2 separate regions of the Homo sapiens genome follow, and region 2 is linked to region 1. The links are contacts of gene promoters, found by promoter capture Hi-C in human tissues and cell types (Jung and others, 2019). All regions are on one chromosome and are shown on one strand. Each heading gives the region's core, a stretch centred on a gene start or on the middle of the fragment in contact. The rest is flanking DNA. Distances are from core to core; before and after follow the strand shown. Region 1 holds the start of UNK (unk zinc finger). Region 2 overlaps QRICH2 (glutamine rich 2).

The links. The method cuts DNA at HindIII sites, captures the fragments that hold promoters and counts their contacts. A contact is called where the count stands out against the background at its distance.
Region 2: a fragment that was not itself captured here is called in contact with the fragment with the promoter of UNK in region 1 in 1 of the 25 tissues and cell types used here (hippocampus).

The regions. Positions count from the first base shown.
Region 1 is chr17:75,781,145-75,788,591 of GRCh38, forward strand. UNK (unk zinc finger) reads left to right here and starts at 3,662. Exons shown (of 16, transcript NM_001080419.3): 1 at 3,662-3,840. The coding sequence starts at 3,737. It overlaps MIR4738 (microRNA 4738), which reads right to left and starts at 3,463; the gene lies at 3,377-3,463. RefSeq lists enhancers at 2,014-2,193, 3,756-4,334, 3,924-4,323, 4,335-4,912 and a silencer at 3,724-3,863. The HindIII fragment of the contact is 5,813 bases long and covers 1-5,413 here.
Region 2 is chr17:76,294,413-76,301,859 of GRCh38, forward strand. All of the region lies in intron 3 of QRICH2 (glutamine rich 2), which reads right to left. Among named protein-coding and RNA genes, the nearest start is that of QRICH2, 10 kb to the right of the region's middle. The HindIII fragment of the contact is 4,582 bases long and covers 2,325-6,906 here.

The DNA of each region.
Region 1 (7,447 bases), core at 2,412-4,911:
AGACGGGGTTTCACCGTGTTAGCCAAGATGGTCTTGATCTCCTGACCTTGTGATCCACCCGCCTTGGCCTCCCAAAGTGCTGGGATTACAGGCATGGGCCACCGCCCCTGGCCGGTAATTTTTTTTTTTTTTGAAGTGGGGTCTTGCCCAGTCACCCATGCTAGAGTGCAGTGGTGCAGTGACCACGGCTCACTGCAGTTTTGACCTCCTGGACTCAAGCAATCCTTCTGCCCCAGCCTCCCAAAGTGCTAGGATTACAGGCATGAGCCACCATGCCTGACCTTCAGAGAATTACAGTACGTAAGTACAAATACCTCAATATTGACTTGTCACACCAGTGGTCAAGTATCAAACAATGAGAAAAAAATGCACACTTTGAAAAACTAGCTCAGCTTCATCTCAATCTCTGGTATCAAATTCCTGTTATTATTTCAGCCTTCTTAATTTTTTTTTTTTTTTTTTTGAGACGGACTCTTGCTCTGCTGCCAGGCTGGAGTGCAGTGGCGCGATCTCAGCTCCATGCAACCTCCACTTCCTGGGTTCAAGCGATTCCCCTGCCTCAGCCTCCCAAGTAGCTGGGATTGTAGGCATGCGCCACCATGCCCGGCTAATTTTTTGTATTTTAGTAGAGACAGGGTTTCCCATGTTGGCCAAGATGGTCTCGATCTCTGGACCTCGTGGTCCGCCTGCCTCTCGCCTCCCAAAGTGCTGGGATTACAGGCGTGAGCCACCGCGCTCAGCCAGCCTTCTTAATCTTAACGTGCACATTATGTATTTAATCATCATATACCTAAATTTACTGTGATAACCAACTTTGATTTCTGCCTTTGACTCAAAATTTGAGGTAGGGAAAAATTACATGATTTTATTAATGCCATGCTGAGAAGAGAAACCTAGGTGGATTCTCATGCTTTATTCTCAAACCTGTGTCAAGTTAAGAAACAGGGGACTGTTTAGACACACATATGAGGCTGTCAAATTCTCTGGGATGCAAACAGAAAAATAACTTGTCATCTTTTTTTTTTTTTTTTTTTTGACTTTGGCCTAGAAGAGGAATAGGCTTTCTAAATTGGTCCCCCACTTTGTGTTCCACGATTTTTTTTTTTTTTTTTTTTTTTGAGATGGAGTCTTGCTCTGTCGCCTAGACTGGAGTGCAGTGGCGCCATCTCGGCTCACTGCAAGCTCCGCCTCCCAGGTTCACACCATTCTCCTGCCTCAGCCTCCTGAGTAGCTGGGACTACAGGCGCCCGCCACCACGCCTGGCTAATTTTTTTGTATTTTTAGTAGAGACAAGGGTTTCACCATGTTAGCCAAGATGGTCTCGATCTCCTGACCTTGTGATCCGCCCACCTCGGCCTCCCAAAGTGCTGGGATTACAGGCTTCAGCCACCACTCCCTGCTGTGTTTCACGATTTTTCTAGGTTATACAGAATCCTGTCATTTCCATGCCTTTGTGTGGATGGACAGTCATTTTCTTTCCAGCTTTGCTGATTATTAGAAACTAAAGCCACCCGGAGAAAAAAGGTATGGATATACATTTATCCATTTAAGTATGATTCGTGGAAACAGGAGTCCGGGCGCAGTGGCTCACGCCTGTAATCCCAGCTCTTGGGAGGCTGAGGAGGGTGGATCGTGAGGTCAGGAGTTCGAGACCAGCCTGACCAACATGGTGAAACCACGTCTCTACTAAAACTACAAAAATCAGGTGGGCGTGGTGGCACACACCTGTAATCCCAGCTACTCAGGAGGCTGAGGCAGGAGAATTGCTTGAACCTGGGAGGCAGAGGTTGCAGTGAGCCGAAATCACACCACTGCACTCCAGCCTGGGCAACAGAGCAAGACTCTGCCTCAAAAAAAAAAAAAAAAAAAAAAAAAAAAGGCTGTCTCTCTTACTTCGTAGTCATGCAGGTATGTTTCACTTTTTCCAGATTGGTACAACGGAGGAAAAGCAACACAGGAAATGAGGAAGAATAAAAAATGTTTATACAATGAAAAAAAGCAGAAGAAAACAAAACAAACAAAACCCAACAGTGAATGTGATGTAGTCTTGTAGGCTACTGTCCTAGTTCCTCTTGTTACCAACTTGCTGAGTAACTTTGTGCAAGTTACTTAGCTTCTCTGGGTTTCGGTTTCCTCTTTTGTAAATTAAGCAGTTTGGATGATATCATCTCCCAACTCCACCAGTACACACTTATTCTGAAGCTCATGATATACATCTATTATTTAAAATCCAGTGCTGTGAACTCTATTTCTTCAGTCAGATCACACTTGAGTATTGTGAGGCTAACATAAACCAAGTAACTTGCGTTTAATCATAGGATTAAAGCAATATACTACAACTTTTATTTGTCCTTTTGTAATTTTTCATTTTCAAACGCCCCTAGTGGCTAAACGATTTAGCCTGTTTAGGAAAAACCAGTTTCTCAACTCTGTGATGTGGCTTCTGATGTGAGGGAACTTGGAGCTAAATAAAATAAGTATGTGTCACTCAAACATTAACGATTTTCCATTAGCCCCACCACCCTTCATCCCTAAGGTTATTTGGAATGTGTTTCTTTAATGAGATAATCATTTGTTAATATAATCCCATCTAAGAAAATATAAATCAAAACCAGTGGATTTGAAATAGATTCAATATGAAAAACCAAATTAAATGACAACGGTTAAAATATCTACGGAGAACATTCTAAAACTCACAGAAACAAATGCCTAGGTCTGGGGCATCTGGCTTATTTTATAAAGTGAAGAACTTTGCTTGACTGGTGGGAAGCAGAGAGGGGAAAGATAATGTCCCAAGTAAAAAGGCTGACGTCCAGACAAGAAAACTAGAGTGGATAAATACGGGCACGCCCTACTCAAACCCAGGCCTTTCCTCTGGACCCTGTGATGCTTCTCAACACTGGCAACTTGTCAGTGTACCTCAGAGACTATTCTAGGCGGAGATTAAATTCGTCCTTGGCCCTTAATGTACTGGAAACAAGTTGGTCAGGCCAGGTGTCAGGCTGAGAAAGCACACAAGTCGTGGAGTTCCAGGTGTCGAGTTTGGCAAAGGTAAATGAAGCGCCTCGGCAAAGGCGCGGGAACTGTAGCGTGCGGTGTACCTCCTCCTTAGCAAAGCTTTCTCAATGCCTCTTAGGTTAGACCCGCCGCAGGGATGAAGGGGTTGCTGGCGGATTGCAGGTGCCTGCAGCACAGGGCCCAGAACTAAGAACCGACAACACAGATTCTTAAGCCCTGCTTGGAGCACTGCTCTGAGCTGGCATTAGAACCGAACCTAGCTGTACTAAGTATAAAGGCAAAGTAGTTATGACACTGTTGGCAGTGAAATTATACTTGGAACTCTTTCGCAGAAATCGCTAGGGCCTCCCTAGCTCTGGGCCCCTTCTCCTCCAGGCGCTCCAGTTTCATGGAAAGGCTTCCCTATGAAACTGAAAACGCGCTGGTAAGAAGGAGAAATGCGACCGGACTGCAATTCCCAGAAGCCGTCGCAGGCCCTCAGCATCCGGGACACTAGCAGCAAGGATCCCTGGGTATTGTGGTCCTGTGCTTTGCCAGCAACCCTCTGCCGACGGTAAAATTCCAGCCGGACATAGAACCACAACTCCCAGCAACCCCTGCTGCCGTGTGGGGGGTCTTCACGTTCTCGTGGCGCGGCGCAGGCGCACTGGGTCCTCGGCGCGGACCGCGCAGACTGAATAATAAAAGGGGAGCGGCGAAGAGGCAGGAAGACAAGACCATGTCGAAGGGCCCCGGGCCCGGCGGCTCCGCAGCTTCCTCGGCGCCCCCGGCCGCTACCGCTCAGGTGCTGCAGGCACAGCCCGAGAAACCGCAGCACTACACGTACGTAGAGCCCCCCCCCCCCCGCCGCGCGCGCACGCCTGACGTCAGCGGCCAGCGTGAGTCACGCGCGCAGGGAGAGCGCGAGGCGGCCTCTTCCTCCCCCCCTTCCTCCTCCGGCCCGGCCCAGACCGGTTCCAACCTGCTGGGGCCGGTCCCAACTGCCTCCAACTGCCACCAACCTCTGGTCGGGCTGTGGGGCGGGAAACTCGGTCCCGGCCGCCGAGTGGGGAAGGCGGGAGCTCGGGATGCAGAGTGCACTCTCCCTAGGCCAGGCCTTCGAGGCCTAACTGTTCCTCAGACCATAAAACCACAGTAGTAGGCTCCTTTGGGGCAGTGAGAAGTCCAAGACACAACCAAGAGGAGTTCCGTGGGGTCCAGCCCCAGAACCCACCTATGAATGATGATTAACGTGAAGTCCTGTCAGGAGATTCCGTGCAGTTTGCGCAGGAAGCCTTTTGTGTCCCTAAGGCTCGTAGGTTGTCCACGAGGGCCACACTTGCTTGAATTCACAGTCGACGTAGATAAACATGCAAAGATGGAAACGTGTCCGTGCGTGCCCATGACCGTTTCCCTCGCGGGCTGTGCGGAGCCTGAGTCTGGGAGCCCGAAGGTGATGGGTTCCAAGTATGTCTGCAGGCTCAGCAGAAATGTAGCATTAGAGGGAGCCCCAAATACTGACACTACAGGAGTCCAGCAGGATGGGAAAACCTCTTCCTGGAAGTCTTGCATCTGTGTGCTTTTAGGTCGCTGTCTTCATTTCCTTCAAGCCACGTTAAGCATTCCCTAGAGTTAGGTGATGTGGGAGAAAGATGAATAAGGGGCGGTTTCTCCTGTTAAGCAAAATGTTGCTTTCCATTTTCCCTGATGCTCTGTGAATGCCTCTCATCCCCATGGGCTCCTGAGTGATGTGCATGTTTAAAAGGATCCCCAGCTGCGAGAGGTTTTGGAACCTGGGGGGTTGAACAGCTCTTAAGTTGTTCAGTGAACGAAGAACAGAATCATCTGTTGGAGTAGAAAGAACTCAAACCAGTCAGGAGGAACTCTTGTTATAGAAGACCTTGGGAAACTGTTCTGGGGTTGGGGAACATTGGTTATAGGAAGTGTATGGTTTCTTTGTGGGATTCTTTGTTGTTGGCTGAAATCATTTAAGCTTCTTGACTACAGTCTGACTCACGTTAACCATTCCTTTTCTGATATGGACATTGCTTTCCTGGTCCTTTCTTACTGGAGATCTTTCGCAGTCTTTCCATTGATTTTGGTGAGATGTTCTTAGCTCAAAGACTACTGATGAGTTGAATGGTGTAGTCTTGATTTTCGAATCTGGAAACTTCACGTAATTGGAACTTCTTTATAATCTCTGGTTGCTCAGATCACTGTTTTTAGCAAAATAAACACATTTTGAGTCACGAGAGTCTTGGCTTCAGCAACTTGTGTTTCTGTGTTGTGTTGTCATTGAGCATACTATGGAATCTGTAATAGAAAGGCTTTCTTATTTTGGAATTGACAGGTGAAACAAGTGAACAGCTGATTAAATGTCAGTATCTGAGTCTTTGTCCTCTTGATGCTCATTTGTTTAAAACCTGTCTTTCCTGCCGGGCGTGGTAGCTCTCACGCCTGTAATCACAGCATTTTGGGAGGCCGAGGCGGATCGCATGAGGTCAGGAGTGAAGAGACCAGCCTGCCCAATATGGCAAAACCCCGTCTCTACTAAAAATACAAAAAATTAGCTGGGTGTGCTGGCGGGCGCCTGTAATCCCAGCTACTCAGGAGGCTGAGGCAGGAGAATCGCTTGAACCCGGGAGGCGGAGGTGGCAGTGAGCCGAGATCGTGCCACTGCACTCCAGCCTGAGCGACAAGAGCAAAACTCCGTCTCAAAAAACAGAAACAAAAACAAAAAAAAAGCCTGCCTTTCCATTCCTTGTGGGTAAGTATAGAGTAATGGGACCTGGCTCTTGAGGTGTCTTAGGAAATCAACAGGAGTAGGTGAAATAGCCAAGCTTGATGGGAGGTTGTAGGTGTTCTTATCTCTTTGTCTGTTCATATGTATGTGTGTTTTTATATTTGTATTTCCAAAAATCAGAGATAGAAATCAGTGGTCTTTCTTGCTAGACTTACTAGCATTCAGAAGCTGTGATGACCTGGAAAACTTCATCCCCTAGTCCTCCTAGGGCTGAGGTGCAGGGAGCATGAGGACACATATGATGGAACCAGCACACTTGCTGGCTCTGATTTTTCTTTTTCTTTTTTTTAAGATAGGGTCTCTGTCATCCAGGCTATAGTGCAGTGTCACCATCTCAGCTCACTGTAGCCTCGACCTCCCTGGCTCAAGTGATCCTCCCACCTCAGTCTCCTGAGTAGCTGGGACTACAGGCACACCTGGATACATTTTTTTGGTATTTTTTGTAGAGACGTGATTTTGCCATGTTGCCCAGCCTAGTCTCGAACTCCTGTGATCGAGCAGGCGCAAGCAATCTACTGTTGGGCCTTGGCCTCCCAAAGTGCTGGGAGGCCACCACACCCAGCTTTTTTTTTTTTTTTCCTCTTCTTAAAAGAGACATGGGCAGGGTGCGGTTGCTCACACCTGTAATCCCAGCACTTTGGGAGCCTGAGGTGGGTGGATCACTTGAGGTCAGGAGTTCGAGACCAACCTGGCCAACATGGAAACCCCGTCTCTACTAAAAATACAAAAAATTAGTCAGGCCTGGTGGCACACACCTGCAGTCCCAGCTACTCAGGAGGCTGAGGCAGGAGAATCGCTTGAACCCAGGAGGCAGAGGTTGCAGTGAGCAGAGATTGTGCCACTGCACTCCAACCTGGGTGACAGAGTGAGACTCGGTCCAAAAAAAAAAAAAAAGAGAGACGTGATCTCTCTGTGTTAACCAGGTGGACTTGAATTCCTGGGCTCAAGCAGTCCTGCCTTAGCCTCCTGAGTAGCTGGGACTACAGGCACATACCACCATACCTGCTTCCCTCCACCCCCATAAGGTGAATTCATTTATTGCCCTTGGGAGTTAGGGGGCGGGAGCATTTTGATTTTGATTTTAAATGAAAATTTGAGCTGCTTGGGAGGTAAACAGTGGGTACACATGGACATACGGAGTGGAATAATAATTGATCATTGATAATAATTGATCCCATTTTGAATACAGAGATAGACCCCTTTTGAATATTTGTAAGTTTTTGCCTGTCAATTTTTTCTTTTTTTTTTTTTTGGAGACAAAGTCTCACTCTGTTGCCCAAGCTGGAGTGCAGTGGCGTGATCTCAGTTTACTGCAACCTCCACCTCCCGGGTTTAAGCAATTCTCCTGCTTCAGCTTCCTAAGTAGCTGGGACTGCAGGCACACGCCACCATGGCTGGCTAATTTTTGTATTTTTAGTAGAGACAGGGTTTCACTGTGTTGGCCAGGCTGATCTCGAACTCCTAACCTCGTGATCCGCCCACCTTGGCCTCCCAAACTGCTGGGATTACAGGCGTGAGCCACTGTTCCCGTCTGCCTGTCAAATTTTTTACCTTTTTAAACTTTTATTTATTTATTTAGTTGTATTTTTAGTAGAGATGGGGTTTCACCATGTTGGTCAGGCTGGTCTTGAACTCCTGACCTCGTGA
Region 2 (7,447 bases), core at 3,366-5,865, 510 kb after region 1:
CCATCTCAAAAAAAAGAAAAGGAAAAGAAACACACTGACGTTCTGGGAGGCTAGGTCTCCATATTTTTGAGACTCTGCATATTTGAAAATGGCATGTACAAAAATATGTAATTTTTGTGGCCAGGTGCGGTGGCTTATGCTTATAGTCCCAGCACTTTGGGAGGCCAAGGCGGGTGGATCATTTGAGGTCAGGACTTTGAGACCTGCCTGGCCAACATGGCAAAACCCCATCTCTACTGAAAATACAAAAATTAGCTGGGTGTGATAGTGCATGCCTGTAATCCCAGCTACTCAGGAGACTGAGGCAGGAGAATCGCTTGAACCCGGGAGGTGGAGGTTGCAGTGAGCCGAGATTGCACCATTGCACTCCAGCCTGGGTGACAGAGTGAGACTCCTTCTCAAAAAAAAAAAAAAAAGTGTAATTTTTCTTCATAAAAGATGGGGAAAACTGCAAAATACAAGTGATCTCTCTGGACTTTTGCTTAGCCTTTAAATAAAGGACATAAGTAATTTATTAAGTTTAAAATATAAAGTCTGGGTCTGGCACGGTGGCTCATGCCTGTAATCCCAGCACTTTGGGAGGCCGAGGTGGGCAGATCACAAGGTCAAGAGATTGAGACCATCCTGGCCAACATGATGAAACCCCGTCTCTACTAAAAACAAATAAATAAATAAATAAATAAATAAATAAATAAAATTAGCTGGGTGTGGTGGCACGTGCCTGTCGTCCCAGCTACTTGGGAGGACAAGTCATGAGAATCGCCTGAACCCAGGAGGCAGAGGTTACAGTGAGCTGAGATCGCACCACTGCACTTCAGCCTGGGTGACAGAGCAAGACTCCATCTCAAAAAATAAATAAATAAAATAAAATAAAATATAAAGTTTGCTCCATTGTTGACCCATTGCTGCTGATAAAAGTGTATACTGGAATGCATGTAAACCATATATTTAAAATGTATAGGCTGGGCACAGTGGCTCACGCCTGTCATCCCAGCATTTTGGGAGACCAAGGCAGGTGGATCATTTGAGGTCAGGAGTTCAAGACCAGCTTGGCCAACATGGTGAAACCTGGTCTCTACTAAAAATATAAAATATTAGCCAGGTGTGGTACTGCACACCTGTAATCCCAGCTACTCAGGAGAATCACTTGAACCCAAAAGGCAGAGGATGCAGTGAGCCGAGATCACGCCACTGCACTCCAGCCTGTGCAACAGAGCGAGACACCATCTCAAAAAGAAATAAATAAATAAAATGTAAACATGCAAACCCATGGACCCAGAAACTCCATAGACAGGAATTTTCTCTATGAATCCTCACCAAAGGATGCCAAGCTATACATACAATGATGGGGTCTGCAGCATCTTGATAAAATAGATCATCAATAAGGGACTGAGATATTTCTGGTCACCAATACAGTAGATGCTATGAATCCATGAAAAAGAAGAATGAACCACTGCCATTTCCAGCCAAGATGAAGTTAACAGGGGCTGGATTTACCCTCCTGTCTGTGACAAGAAAAAACAAAACTGAGGCTGGGCGCAGTGGCTCACGCCTGTAATCCCAGCACTTTGGGAGTCCGATGTGGGTGGATCATGAGGTCAGGAGTTCAAGACCAGCCTGACCAACATGGTGAAACCCCGTCTCTACTAAAAATACAAAAACTAGCTGGGTGTGGTGGCACATGCCTGTAATCCCAGCTACTTAGGAGGCTGAGGCAGGAGAATTGCTTGAACCCAGAAGTCGGAGGTTGCAGTGAGCCGAGATAGCACCATTGCACTCCAGCCTGGGAGACAGAGTGAGACTCTATCTCAAAAAAACAAACAAACCCAACAACAGCTATGAAACGGTGGTTTCCTACATACTGGATATCAAGTTATGAAGGACAATAATCCCCAAGCGGTGGAGAAAGGAAAACTGGGAAGCCTGTATCACCCTGGCTTGCTGCCTTGCTGGAGTTTCCAGACTGCAGTGCAGGGAGGGGGAATTGAGGTGGAGTCTGGCAGACTCTCTGAGTTGAGGAGACAGAAGTGAGCATTCAGGGAGATTCAGGCAACTGAAGGTCACAGGATAGAGTATCAGAAAGAAGGGAGTTATCCAGGCGTGGTGGCTCATGCCTGTAATCCCAGAACTTTCAGTGGGTGGATTACCCGAGGTTAGCAGTTTGAGACCAGCCTGGCCAACAAGGCGAAACCCCATCTCTACTAAAAATACAAAAGTTAGCCAGGCACAGTGGCACATGCTTGTAGTCGCAGCTACTTGGGAGGCTGAGGCAGGAGAATCACTTGAACCCAGGAGGCGGAGGTTGCAGTGAGCTGAGATCACACCACTGCACTCCGGCCTGGGCAACAGAGCATGGCTCTGTCTCAAAAAAAAAAAAAAAAAAAAATAACCAGAAAGAAGGGAGATGACAGAAAGCCCACTCCCACTCCAGAGGTCTGTGGAGGATCCCCTCCGAGTGATGAGCACGCATTTGATGAGTACATGCATGTGGGGAGACGTCCCAAGATTGGGGAAAGAACCACCTGCAGGGCTTGAAGAAGCAGTGCCCTGCCTGCCATGGGGCTGGAAATGGTGCCTGTTCTTATCAACCAGTTTGGAAAAACTCATCATTCAAGTAGCACAGAGCAGAGTGTACTCAGAAAAGTGTTGCCTCAGAAATGGAGAATAATCAGCCCTAGACTGAACACACCTATGGACCCACCTAACAAATCATAAAATCATAAAAGCAAGGCCTGAAGCAATCAAACTGTTTTTAAGTAGCTGTGTCCTGGGGGAAACAGGCTCAATAAAATGTATAAGAATACAAAAATATGGCCGGGTGTGGTGTCCCACACCGGTAATCCCAACACTTTGGGAGGCCAACGCGGGAGGATCACCTGAGTGCAGGAGTTCGGAACCAGCCTGGCCAACATGGTGAAACCCCGTCTCTACTAAAAATACAAAAATTAGCCAGGCATGGTGGCACACACCTGTAATCCCAGCTACTCAGGAGGCTGAGGCAGGAGAATCGCTTGAACCCAGGAGGCGGAGATTGCAGTGAGCAGAGATTGTGCCACTGCACTCCGGCCTGGGCGACACAGCAAGACTCCATCTCAAAAGAAAAAAAAAATACAAAAATATGTACCATCCAATGCAGGAAAAGTCACAATGGCTGGCACCTGATCAAAGATTGCCAGGCATACAAAGAGGCAGGAAGACATGACCCATAATGAGGAGATAACTCAACCAACTGAGACCAACTCAACACTGGCATATGTGTTAGAATTAGCAGAGATGGATATTAAAACAGTTATTATGGCTACACACACACAAGCACACACTTTAGAGACAGGGTCTCACTCTGTCACTCAGTCTGGAGTGCAGTGGCATGATCACAGCTCACTGCAACCTTTAACTCCTGGGCTCAAGCAATCTTCCCCCTTCAGCCTCCCAAGTAGCTAGGACTACTTAGGAATCTGTTTTTTTTTTTTTTTTTTTTTTTTTTGAGACAGAGTCTTGCTGTGTCACCCAGGCTGGAGTGCAGTGGCACAATCTCAGCTCACTGAAACCTCCGCCTCCAAGTTTCCAGTGCCTCAGCCTCCTGAGTAGATGGGATCACAGGCACGCACCACCATGCCCGGCTAATTTTTTGAATTTTTCAGTAAAGATGGGGTTTCACCATGTAGGCCAGGCTGGTCTTGAACTCCTGACTTCAGGTGATCCATCCACCTCAGCCTCCCAAAGTGCTGGGATTACAGGCATGAGCCACGCTGCCTGGCTTTCTGGCTAATTTTTTTTTTTTTTTTTTTTGAGACGGAGTCTCACTCTGTCACCCAGGCTGGAGTGCAGTGGTGCAATGTCGGCTCACTGCAAGCTCCACCTCCCGGCGCCATTCTCCTGCCTCAGCCTCCCGAGTAGCTGGGACTACAGGCGCCCACCACCACGCCCGGATAATTTTTTTGTATTTTTAGTAGAGACGGGGTTTCACCGTGTTAGCCAGGATGGTCTTGATCTCCTGACCTGGTGATCCGCCCGCCTCAGCCTCCCAAAGTGCTGGGATTACAGGCATGAGCCACTGCCCCCGGCCACGTGACCTTTTAAAAACTTTTTGTAGAGACGGGGTCTTAATATGTTGCCTAGGCTGGTCTCAAACTCCTGGCCTCAAGCACTTCTCCCGCCTTGACTTTAAGTACTGGAATTAAAGGCGTGAGCAACCATGTCTGACCTCTTTGTCTTTTTTTTAAGACAGAGTCTCGCTCTGTCGCCCAGGCTGGAGTTCAGTGGCGCGATCTCGGCTCACTGCAACCTCTGCCTCCCGGGTTCAAGCGATTCTCCTGCCTCGGCCTCCCGAGTAGCTGGGATTACAGGCGCATGCCACCACGCCCGGCTAATTTTTATATTTTTAGTAGAGATGGGGCTTCACCATATTGGTCAGGCTGGTCTCAAATTCCCGACCTCAAGTGATCCGTCTGCCTCGGCTTCCCAAAGTGCTGGAATTATAGGTGTGAGCCACAGCGCCCGGCCCTGAGTGTAGTTTTTATTTGCTTTTGTAGCTTTTCAAACTTTCTTTACAGTCTGTCCTGAAATGCAGGGATCTTTCCTTATTAGTGGGCCATGGTGACAGACCCTGGAAATAAAACTTCTGTAGGGGGCCCTCTGCTGATGGCAACTTTTGCACACAGGCATGCATCTGTCTGTCTTGAGACAGTGTACAGATGACCAAATTGTTTTCCGATCGCCAACCTACCTTCACCTGAATAAAATCAAGCTGAATATGTTCAAATGGCCCTCAAAGATGAGGCTTAACTTCCCTTTTGGTCTTGACATCCCTCCCGCTGGCTTTGGGCTAGTGGGTTATCAAAACAAGCAAGCCAACTTTGAGGGCCATTTGAAAATGTAGACGGAAGCAGGGTGAAGAGTAAAGCTTTTGGCGCCACCAAGTGGCCATCTTGGGGAGCGCCAAATATCTGGGTACAAAAGACAACCTGGGATCTCCAGGACCATTTTCTGATTTCAGGGCTCATTCTCAGAGGAAAGCGGCATCAGAAAGATGTTGCAAGAGGGGCCGGGCGCGGTGGCTCCAGCCTGTAATCCTAGCACTTTGGGAAGCCGAGGCGGGCGGATCACCTGAGGTCAGAAGTTCGAGCCCAGCCTGGACAACATGGTGAAACCCTGTCCCTAGTAAAAATACAAAAATTAGCTGGGCGTGATGGTGGGCGCCTGTAATCTCAGCTACTCGGGAGACTGAGGCAGGAGAATCATTTGAACCCAGGAGGTGAACGTTGCAGTGAGCCAAGATTGCGCCACTGCACTCCAGCATGGGCGACAAAGCAAGACTGTCTCAAAAAACAAAACTAAACGATATTGCAAGAGGACCCTGAACACAAAAGGAATGGACTAGAAAAAAGTGGCCTCCACTTTCACTTTTTTAAAGCCAAACCTTTTTTTTTTTTGAGACGGAGTTTCGCTCTTGTTGCCCAGGCTGGAGTGCAGTGATGCGATCTCGGCTCACTGCAACCTCCGCCTTCCGGTGGTTTCAAGCGAGTCTCCTGCCTCAGCCTCCCGAATAGCTGGGACTACAGGCACACACCACCACGCCCAGCTAACTTTTTGTATTTTTAGTAGAGACGGGGTTTCACCATGTTGGTCAGGATGGTCTCGATCTCTTGACCTTGTGATCTGCCTGCCTCGGCCTCCCAAAGTGCTGGAATTACAGGCGTGAGCCACCGCACCTGGCCAAGCCAAATCTTTTTTGCACATGCCACTATCGTACTGTTTTTACCGAGCAGTACATCTTCTCAGGGTGATGGCGGCAGACACCATGAGACTTACACATAAGCATAGACACCTTTAAACATTTTTACTTCTCCAGAGGTAAGAAAGCATGTGCGTTTGATTACTGCTCATAATTATGAACAACTCCAAAAGCAAATAAAGATAAATATAAATATTAAAAGATTGTTGAGAAGCAAGAGAACAAGCTCTGGTAATGGCCACTTCAGCCCTCGCACAGACCAGGATGAAAGCAGTGGGGGAGTGCCACTAGCCCCAGGTAAGCACATACAACACACCTGAGACAAATATGACCTGAGACCAATTTGACCTGCCTGCATGGTTGGTAGAGTCCTTTAGCATAAACGTAAAATAAAGATTTTGAAACTGGGTGTTAACCTCCATTATGGGTTTTGGCAGACAGTGGTGACTTTATGGAAATTGTGCGGTGTGCCTGCATCATGAGTAGAGGGCCAGGATTGAGACTGGGTGCAGTGGCTCAATCCCAGCACTATGGGAGGCCAAGGCTGGCAGACTGCTCGAGGCCAGGAGTTTGAGACCAGCCTGGGCAACATGGCAAAAACCTTTCTACAAAATACAAAATATGACCAGGCATGGTGGCTCACGCCTGTAATCCCAGCACTTTGGGAGGCCAAGGCAGGCAGATCACCCGAGGTCAGGAGTTTAAGACCAGCCTGGCCAACACGGTGAAACCCCATCTTTACTAAAAATACAAAAAAATTAGCCGGGCGTGGTGGTGGGCACCTGTAATCCCAGCTACTCGGGAGGCTGAGGCAGGAGAATCACTTGAGCTCGGGAGGTGGAGGTTGCAGTGAGCCAAGATCATGCCACTGCACTCCAGCCTGGGCAACAGAGCAAGACTCTGTCTCAAAAATGCAAAATATTAGTCAGGTGTGGTGGCATGCACCTGTAGTCCCAGGTACTCAGGAGGCTGAGGTGAGAGGATCACTTGAGTCCAGGAGGTCGAGGTTGCAGTAAGCCCTTATGGTACCACTGCACTCCAGCCTGGGCAGCAGAGCAAGACTGTCTCAAAAATATTTTTTCTTTAACATGCCCTAACATTACAACAAATGAGCCAAAATCTTGAACAAAATATATGATAGGCCAGGGCGGTAGCTCATGCCTGTAATCCCAGCCCTTTGGGAGGCCGAGGCGGGTGGATCACTTGAGCTCTGGAGTTTGAGACCAGCCTGGGCAACATGACAACACCTTGTCTCTACTAAAAATACAAAAATTAGCTAGGTATGGTGGTACGCACCTGTGGTCCCAACTACCGGGGAGGCTGAGGCAGGAGGATTGCTTGAGCCCCAGAGGGGAAGGTTGCAGTGAGCCGAGATCACACCACTGCACTCCAGCCTGGGTGACGACAGAGACTCTGTCTCAAAAAAAATGAAGAAGTCCATTTGGGACTCAAAATACATTCACTGATTCTAAGATGGACATCCTGCCCCGACACCCACACATACATTTTAACATCTCTGAAATCAGGATGTATCTTAGAGTTGGTGGTGTTTTATAATTTTTTTTTTTTTTTTTGAGACAGGGTCTCACTCTGTCACCCAGGTTGGACTGCAGTGGTGCAATCTCGGCTCACTGCAACCTCTGCCTCCCAGGTTCTATAGATTCTCCTGCTTCAGCCTCCCAAGTAGCTGGGATTACAGGCTCCTGCCACCAC